Regions from separate parts of the Homo sapiens genome. Here region 2 is linked to region 1. Evidence: promoter capture Hi-C in human tissues and cell types (Jung and others, 2019). All regions are on one chromosome and are shown on one strand. Each heading gives the region's core, a stretch centred on a gene start or on the middle of the fragment in contact. The rest is flanking DNA. Distances are from core to core; before and after follow the strand shown.

Evidence for each region. The method cuts DNA at HindIII sites, captures the fragments that hold promoters and counts their contacts. A contact is called where the count stands out against the background at its distance.
Region 2: a contact is called between a fragment that was not itself captured here and the fragment with the promoter of HOXA2 in region 1, in 1 of the 25 tissues and cell types used here (mesenchymal stem cells).

What each region holds. Positions count from the first base shown.
Region 1 is chr7:27,101,412-27,105,367 of GRCh38, forward strand. HOXA2 (homeobox A2) reads right to left here and starts at 1,272. Exons shown (of 2, transcript NM_006735.4): 1 at 699-1,272; 2 at 1-54. The coding sequence starts at 1,089. RefSeq lists an enhancer at 1,107-1,946. The HindIII fragment of the contact is 9,606 bases long and covers 1-3,956 here.
Region 2 is chr7:26,349,705-26,353,977 of GRCh38, forward strand. All of the region lies in intron 2 of SNX10 (sorting nexin 10), which reads left to right. Among named protein-coding and RNA genes, the nearest start is that of LINC02981, 47 kb to the right of the region's middle. The HindIII fragment of the contact is 3,338 bases long and covers 1,353-4,273 here.

The DNA of each region.
Region 1 (3,956 bases), core at 22-2,521:
CAGTTCTCAGGCGCCGCGATCCCCCGCCGCTGCCATCGGCGATTTCCAGGGATTCTGCGGAAAGGGAAACCAACAAGAGACACACGCACAGTTGGAGGTGGAGGGGTCCGAGCGGGGTTATTCCACTGGAGAATAAATATAGCAGAAAAGATCAACTGCAACAAAATGGCCGCCCCTGGATGCAGTAGAGCTATTGTGCTGCCTTTCCTGGGAGCCCAGCCTGGGCAGACCCCGTCTCCTCCATCTCTATCGAATTCATGCCTGTGGCTCCCCCCAACCTCTTCATCCGGGAGCAAACTTTATATTAGCCACAACACAATTTATAATTAATGCGTCAGCTGCTTAGCTGAGCAAGAGCGATCTATCACTCTTCATTACTGTCAAAAAGCCAAACTCTAGGACAACTAGACAGGAGGAGGTCAGTTCCAACTCAAATAAATCATCCCACATTACACAAGTTCGGGAAAGTTTCCCCCCACTTCCTAAAAATATATATGTCTCATTGTAGAGCGCAGGATCCCCTTTCCTCTCCATCAAACCCACTCCTGAACCCACAGGGGCAGGGACAAGGCAACCAAGCATCTCTCCCTCTCCTCCTTCTCTCCCAGCCCACTCTCCCCTCCCCCCACAGCCACTCTCGGGGCAGCCCGGAGAAGGAAGAGGGTCCCAGAGACCTGGGGCCAAGTCTTTGGACTGACCTTTGTGGCTGAGGCAAGCAGGGCCGGTGGCTGCGGCGGTGGCGGCGGCGGCGGCGGCCGGCAGAAGTGCGGTTTTCTTGGCCGCCTTCTTCTCCTTCATCCAGGGGTACTCGGGCGGCTGCAGGGCGCCGGCGGGCACCGGGCTGCCGCGGCTGCCCGCGGGGCTCGGCTTGGGGCGGCCGCCAGCGCCGTGGCGAGGGTGACTGCCGGGGTTCAGGCTGGGAATGGTCTGCTCAAAAGGAGGAGGAATCAGTGTCGAGTGTGAAAGCGTCGAGGTCTTGATTGATGAACTTTGAAATGTATCAGCGACAGGGGGAAAAGATGTCAGGCACTCAGCGAGCGACGGCTGGCTATTGATAAAACCAATCTCTCGCTCAAATTCGTAATTCATGGCCTTCTCCTTGGAGCCCCCTCAGAGAAAAAGTTCCCTCTTTTGGAGGGGCTTTGGGGGGGCAAGGCCTAGGAAAAAGGCGAGCGCAGAGGAAAAAAAATCTATCATAGAATATCGCTGCTAGGGTGTTTTTTTTCTAATTCACTGATTACAGCCGTATGGGGACCGCGCTACTATTAAACTATTGAATTCATGGAGACAAGGTTGAAATTGGACCGAATTGGCTGTCACATGATTGCTTCTGCCCAATGACAATTTGGGCTTTAATCAAAAGAAGCCACTGTCTGTTTGATTGATCCAAAAAAGTCGGGAAGGAACGCCTCATTGGGGGCCAGCGAGGCTTTATTTACACTTTTTTCAGAGCAAAAATACATATATGTTGGTGTGGGTGGGGATGTCCCGGAGTACGTGGGGGCGAGGGTGCCTGCGTGCCTCCTGATCTGCAAGGATCTATCTAGTGTGTGTGCCTGGGAGTGTGTGTGTGTGTGTGTGAATGTGCGCGAGTGTAAGCCCTGCTGTCGGTCCCGCCGGTGGCTGCCCTCTGCCTCCCCCGCACACTCCGCGCATTGTTTGGGACTGTCGGGAAGACGCCTCGCACCTCACAAATCATTTAAGCACCTCAGTCTGACGCCTGCAGTCATTAACAAAGTAATCCATTAATCTTCAAAGTTTTGACACCCGAGGGCCCTGCGTCCCAGCCACATAAGTTCTGTTAAAGCAGGAGAAAGGAGCAGAGGAAGAGAGGAGATGAGAGAGGGAGAATAAAGAGAGAGGGAAGAAGAGAGAGTTTGAGAGATGGAGAAAGAGAAGACAGAAAAGAGAGAAGAAAGGAAAGATTTTGGTTGGGAAGGGGTCTTCCTTTTCTTTCCCTTTTCCTCCTTCACTTTTCCTAAAAGCAGTTCCTGGATCTCAAAACTGATCTCTCTCGGTCTGTTTTCCTTCCTGTCTGTCCCTTTCCCTCTTTTTCCTCTTCTCCCCCTTTCTCCCTCCCTCTCTCTTCTGTCCGCCTCCCCTTCTCCCCTCAGCCTCTCGCCCCCCTCCCAGTGTCCAGCCCAGAGTCTGCGCCCCGGGCCCATTGTTAGCAGGCTATTCCACGGCAGCTTTGCATCTGGCTCCGGCGGGAAGCGGAAAACGGGAGGCGGCTCTCGAAGCTTCCCGACCTTCCTGCGCCATCAACTTCTCAGGAGTGGCTGGAGAAAGATGCATGTGCCAAGCGAGACAACAACCCCAGGTCCATGTGTCCAAATCCCCGTAGCCAGGGCGGCGGCCAGCCAAAGAAATGCCGCCCCGAGCAGGCGCGTGCGGCTCCTGGCATTCTGGGTTTCATACCCGTAGGGCTCGGGTGCGGTGAGTATTTCCGATTTCCAGGAAGTCTGTTGGAAGTTACCAGCAGGGAAAGAGAAGATGCTTGCTCCTCTCTTTCCCTCCCTCTCTCTTTTTTTTCTACCCTTCTTCTTGTCCTTGTCGCTCTGGTTGGGGGCTGGTTGGTTTAGATACAGCGAGTGCTCCCTGGCAGCCTGAACTGCCTCCCACACCTTCCTGATCCTTGGGCACCGGGGATGTTTGCTTCCGGGTTCTGTTGTGGGAAACAGCACTGCGGGGGAGAGGAGGCGACCCAAGGAGGAATTATAAAGGTTTTCGTTCTCCTTCATTATCTTTTTTCCAATTCGGAGACTTGAGACTGAGCGCATCTTGGACAGTGCTAGAGGGTTCAAAAGATAACACCTTTAGGTACCAAAAAATAATTTTTAAAAAATCCACCAAGCCAGAAAGAGGTGAGGAGGCTGAGAGGTAGATCTGGAGGTACCTCTTTCCCCCCCAAACCCTGAGGATGGTGATTCGCTTTTGCTTCCTTTGAAATAGACTAACTGATCAGACTCCCCCAGGCCGGCAGGCATCAATGGCAGGAAAATAAATCATTCTGATGGTCAGGGAGAGAGAGGTTGGAGGGGGAGAAAAATCTACGTAGAAAACAAGAAAGGCCAACCAAGGAGCAAAGGCAGGACCCCATCTCTGAGGCCAGCGTCAAAGAGGGTTTGGGGTGGAAATTAGACATAAGTGGCCTATATCATTGACCAGCCCAGAGCATTGCCTTGCAGATAGAGATGCTATTTTGGAAAATGTGAGGTTTTTTAGTTTTCTTGCTTTTATTCCAAACAAAGCTCCAAAGGAAGTCTGGGCGCGATCAATCTTGCTCACCAAAAGCCTTGACAGCTTCTAGCCCTTAAGAACACATTTCAGCTTCCAGCTCCTTCCAAGATAAAATGTGGCCGAGCAAAGAGGAGAGCAGGAAATGCAAGTAAATAAGGAAAACTAGTCTTTTAAAAAATATATTTTGGCAGTGAAAAGGGTTATAGGGCTCCTTTTAGGAAGGGTGCTTTGCGAACCCTGGGATGGCAGCTTTTGGCATCTGCTTTTACCAGAAAATATTACAGGCTTAAGGGAACGTGGGCGGGGGGTGCAGAGAGGGAGCAGCGCTGCCCCCATATCTCTGAGGCTTTGTCAGGGGCTGCGTGGGTGAGAGCTTTCTGCTGCCTCAGCCGCCTTAATTCAAATACCATCTGGAAGAAAACCCTTTTCTTTGACCACTCAACACTGAAATCTTCCCCAAATCTATTACTTTAACTTATGAGATATTTTAATAAGGATTTCTTTTTAATATCTAGGAAACTGGGGGGTGAAGTCAATACTTTTTTCTTTGAAAGCCAAAATGAATGTCTTGACTGGTAAGATGCGGGAAATCACATTAGAATCTCATTTTAAAATCTTAGCCCTGGGGGAAGGAGGAAGCCTCCAAACCACCCCTCCCTCAGCTAAAGAGTAGATTTCAGAAACGTGTTCAAATAGTGATATCCCTGAAGGATCTT
Region 2 (4,273 bases), core at 1,772-4,271, 750 kb before region 1:
CTCCAAATGGAAAGGCAGGTGGCTGTGACAGGAAGCGCATTTCAGACAGTGTCTTTTGTGGAGCTAGGCATTTTTATTCTTTTTATATTCGAATGTCCAGAGTGAGCTGTTTGATTTTTCTACACTACTCAGGATGCTTGCCTCAGCCTTGCTGAACTCATCTTGTGGGGTGTATGAGTGAGCATTTGCTCCAGCTGCACACAGTCCCTTTCATGGAGTCGGACATTCTTGCCCAAGCGCCTGCTCCCTCCTCCATAAGGGCACTGGGCTCTTTCCTTGGCACAGGGCTCACTTGGTGTAACTAGACTGTTCCTCCCTGTGTGATGTGACCTGAAGTGTGGGCTGAAACCCCTTTTGAATGTATGTGTGCATGCGTGCATATCTCCCCTGCTCTCCTGGATCATGATGGCTGCATTCTACTTTTAGAGATTCATCCCTTTAGGATAACTGATTTTCCCCTTCCCAAATGCACATGCTTCATACTAGGTATAACAGCAGCTTCTAGGCAACTCCAGTTATTGACACCTTAGCGATGATATATCCATCACTTCTTTGGCAGGGAATATCCTGAGTAGGACAGGCCGAAGTGGGCCCCAGAGAGTTGCACAAACCATGAGGACCCCACCACTGAGGGAGGAGATGGGGCACTATGGGGAGAGCCGGCAGGGAGGGATGTGTTGCCATTTTGGATGAGCAGCCCCTAAGGTTAATATTAATATGTCTAAGATATGCTTATGCTGACCCATGGTAATATTTTGGACTTCCTCTAGGAAAGCATGCTTTTGATATTCGGAAACTGACTGGAAACTGACTGGTCTGGAACTGATGAATACCTTTAACAAATAAATAATATTAGCTAGGATCCTGTGATGCTGGGTACTTTGATGGGAAGCAACAAGACAGAACATTTTCTCACTCCCCAAAACCTAAATTTGTTGTTCCTCTCTCCCTCCTTTCTTCCTCCCTTTTTCCCCTCCCACCCTCCCTCCCTCCATTTTTCTCAGTCTCTGTTATACTCAGTTATTAAGTGTTCCTGTTTGAAAAAATAGTTAAGTTTCCATAAGAGGCAATTTACAGTCTTCTGTAAGCAAAGAAAGGCAGCTGGGAATATTGTCTTCACACATACACACCAGGTTTCAGAGAAGGCTGTTACCATTCTGAGCGCTACATTAGTGTTACAGGTACTGTGAGGACTCTGATATTTTTTTCTGAGCTTGTCCCAGAGAAAGATCTTCATTCCTTTTTTTTTTCTTAACTCTTCTTCCAGATTTTAAAATAATTGTTCACTGCAGAACATTTTTGGAAAAGTATACAGGAAAAAATAAAACTTTGAGCTATTTCTTTCTAGTCTTTTTCTATATATATGTATATGTCATTTTTAGAAAATTGAGATCATACAGAATTTATAGTTTAATATCTCACTCTTCCAGCTCAGTGTTCTAACACATTTCAAGAAATACTTCACCAGCTCTGATTAAATTAGAAGTGGCTTAGGAAAAGAAAGAATTAGTAAACATAAATTCATCTTTGAATTGTTAAGAAATGAACAAAGAATAACTTTACAGTGGAGAAATCTGACAAACACTTCCTCAGCCAGGTGATCACTGTTAACACCCACAGTGATGTTATGTTGCTAGCATGTGGAAGTGATATCACCTGGAAGTGATAAAAATGGCACTTTACCCTCTGAAATAGGTAGCCTTCCTTCCAAAAACCTATAACACCAATCTAATCATGAGACAAACATCAGACAAATCTGCAGAATACCTGCGAGGGCTCCTCAAATTGTCAAGGTCATGAAAAACAAGGAATGCCTGAGAAGCTGTCATAGCCAAGAGGAGCCCAAGGAAACACAATGACCAAATATAATGTATCTCGAGTGGGATCCTGGAACAACAGATTAATGACATTAGGTGAAAACTAAAGCAATCAAGCAGTCTGGTTTTTTTTTTTTGTTTTTTTTTTTTTTTGAGACCGAGTCTCTCTCTGTCGCCCAGGCTGGAGTGCAGTGGTGCGATCTCGACTCACTGCAAGCTCCACCTCCCGGGTTCACACCATTCTCCTGCCTCAGCCTCCTGAGTAGCTGGGACTACAGGTGCCTGCCACCACGCCCAGCCAATTTTTTGTATTTTTAGTAGAGGCGGGGTTTCACCATGTTAGCCAGGATGGTCTAGATCTCCTGACCTCGTGATCCGCCCGCCTCGGCCTCCCAAAGTGCTGGGATTACAGGTGTGAGCCACTGTGCCCGACCAGCAATCTTAATGAAGTATGGACTTCAGTTAATAATAACATGTCAATATTGATTAATGAATTGTTACAAAGGCAGCATGCTAATATAAAATGTTAATAATAGGGGAAGCTGGGTGTGGGATATGTAGGACCACTCTGTACTATCTTCATAATTTCTCTATATCTAAAACTGTTTAAAATAAAAAGTTTATTTTAAAACAAATATCATTGACATATATATGCTCACATAAAAAGATTCTGAAAGATTGTATAGTGAATAAACCAATAAACAAAATAGTATTTATAAATGTAGGTTATGCTCCTGTTTGTGTTAAAAAATTGCATAAAGCTGGGTGTGTTGGTGCATGCATGTAATTCCAGCTACTTGGCCAAGGCGAGATCACTTGAGCCCAGGAGTTCAAGGCTGCATTGAGCGATCATCAATAGCCACAACATTCCACCCTATGCAATGGAGTAAGACCTTGCCTCTTCAACCCCCAAAACAAAAAAATACGCAAGGTAGAGATGATAATAAAATGAACCCCCATATGTGTACCTACCAACCAGCTTCAACAATTTACTAACTCATTATTAACTCATAGCCGAGCTATATCCCCACCCCACCTATTTCCTCCTGCTACCACAGTCAATTATTTGGAAACAAATTCTAGATATTATATAATTTCATCTGTAAATATTTCAGTATGCATTTCTAACAAATGACCTTTTTAAAAAATGAACCACATAATCACATGTTAAATAATTAAACAATTCCTTCATATCATCAAATATTCAATGTGCAAATTACCTTGATTATTTTGAAAAAAATTATATACTTGGTTGTTCTAATTCTCTATTTAATTAGGATTCAGATAAGGACCACACATTGCATTTGGTTGATACATTGTTTAAAGTCTTTAATTCTCTCTTTTCCCCCTTTTGCAATTTATTTGTGGAAGAAATTGCATCTTTTGCCTTATGGAGGTTTTCACATTCTAGATTTTGCTGATTGCATCCTTGTGGATGCCAATTATTTCTTACTGCAGAAGAGGAGGTTTTTTTTTTCTGCACTTTTCCTGATGTGTTACAAGATATGAAAAGGTAACTCGCTGATTTGGGATACTACTTGTGTAAAGAAACTTGCAACATTGTGAGCTATTATAAGTCATGTAAAAGGCAGGTCTAGCTAAATCTCATTCACAGTTGTTTATCCTGAAGTAATAAAAGCTTCTCAAAAAATCATCATTCAGTACCACCAGAGGATGGTATTTAAACATACTCCATGCTGTAGAGTGGCAAGTAATATCCCTTGTCATATGTCTCTTAAGTTATTTGTTACAGCTGTTATTAGGAAATAAAGAAAGGTTGCTTGATATATTCCTTTTGCCCTTCTATTTTGTTATTTGTAAAGAATATAGTATATGAAATGTGCTAGATTTTAGTTGTGAAATTGTTATATGGGGGTCCTGAATAGCACTCTGGTGATTAACACACTGGTAAATGCTTTTTTTTTTTTTTTTTTTTTTTGGTGGGGAGACAGAGTCTTGGTCTGTCGGCCAGGCTGGAGTGCAGTGGCACGATCTCAGTTGCTCACTGCAACCTCCGCCTCCCAGACTCACGCAATTCTCCTGCCTCAGCCTCCCGAGTAGCTGGGATTACAAGTGTGTGCCACCACACCTGGCTAATTTTTGTATTTTTAGCAGAGACGGGGTTTCACCATGTTGGCCAGGCTGTTCTCAAACTCCTCACCTCAGGTAATCTGCCTGCCTTGGCCTCCCAAAGTGCTGGGATTATAGGCTTGAGCCACCACGCCCAGCCCACACTGGTAAATTCTATAATCATTAGTTGTATGGAAAAGTACCTAGCGCATTGTTGTTGCACAATATATTTTAAGTGAATGAATGAGTCTCCAGTGTAAATACATGAACATGTAAAACACTACTTTGAAATAGGAAAAAAAATGTCCCAAGAAAAAGAACAAACTGAGACAAGTTTACATTTTTATGTTAGAAAATTCTCATCAAAGCTATGAAAAATTAGTATT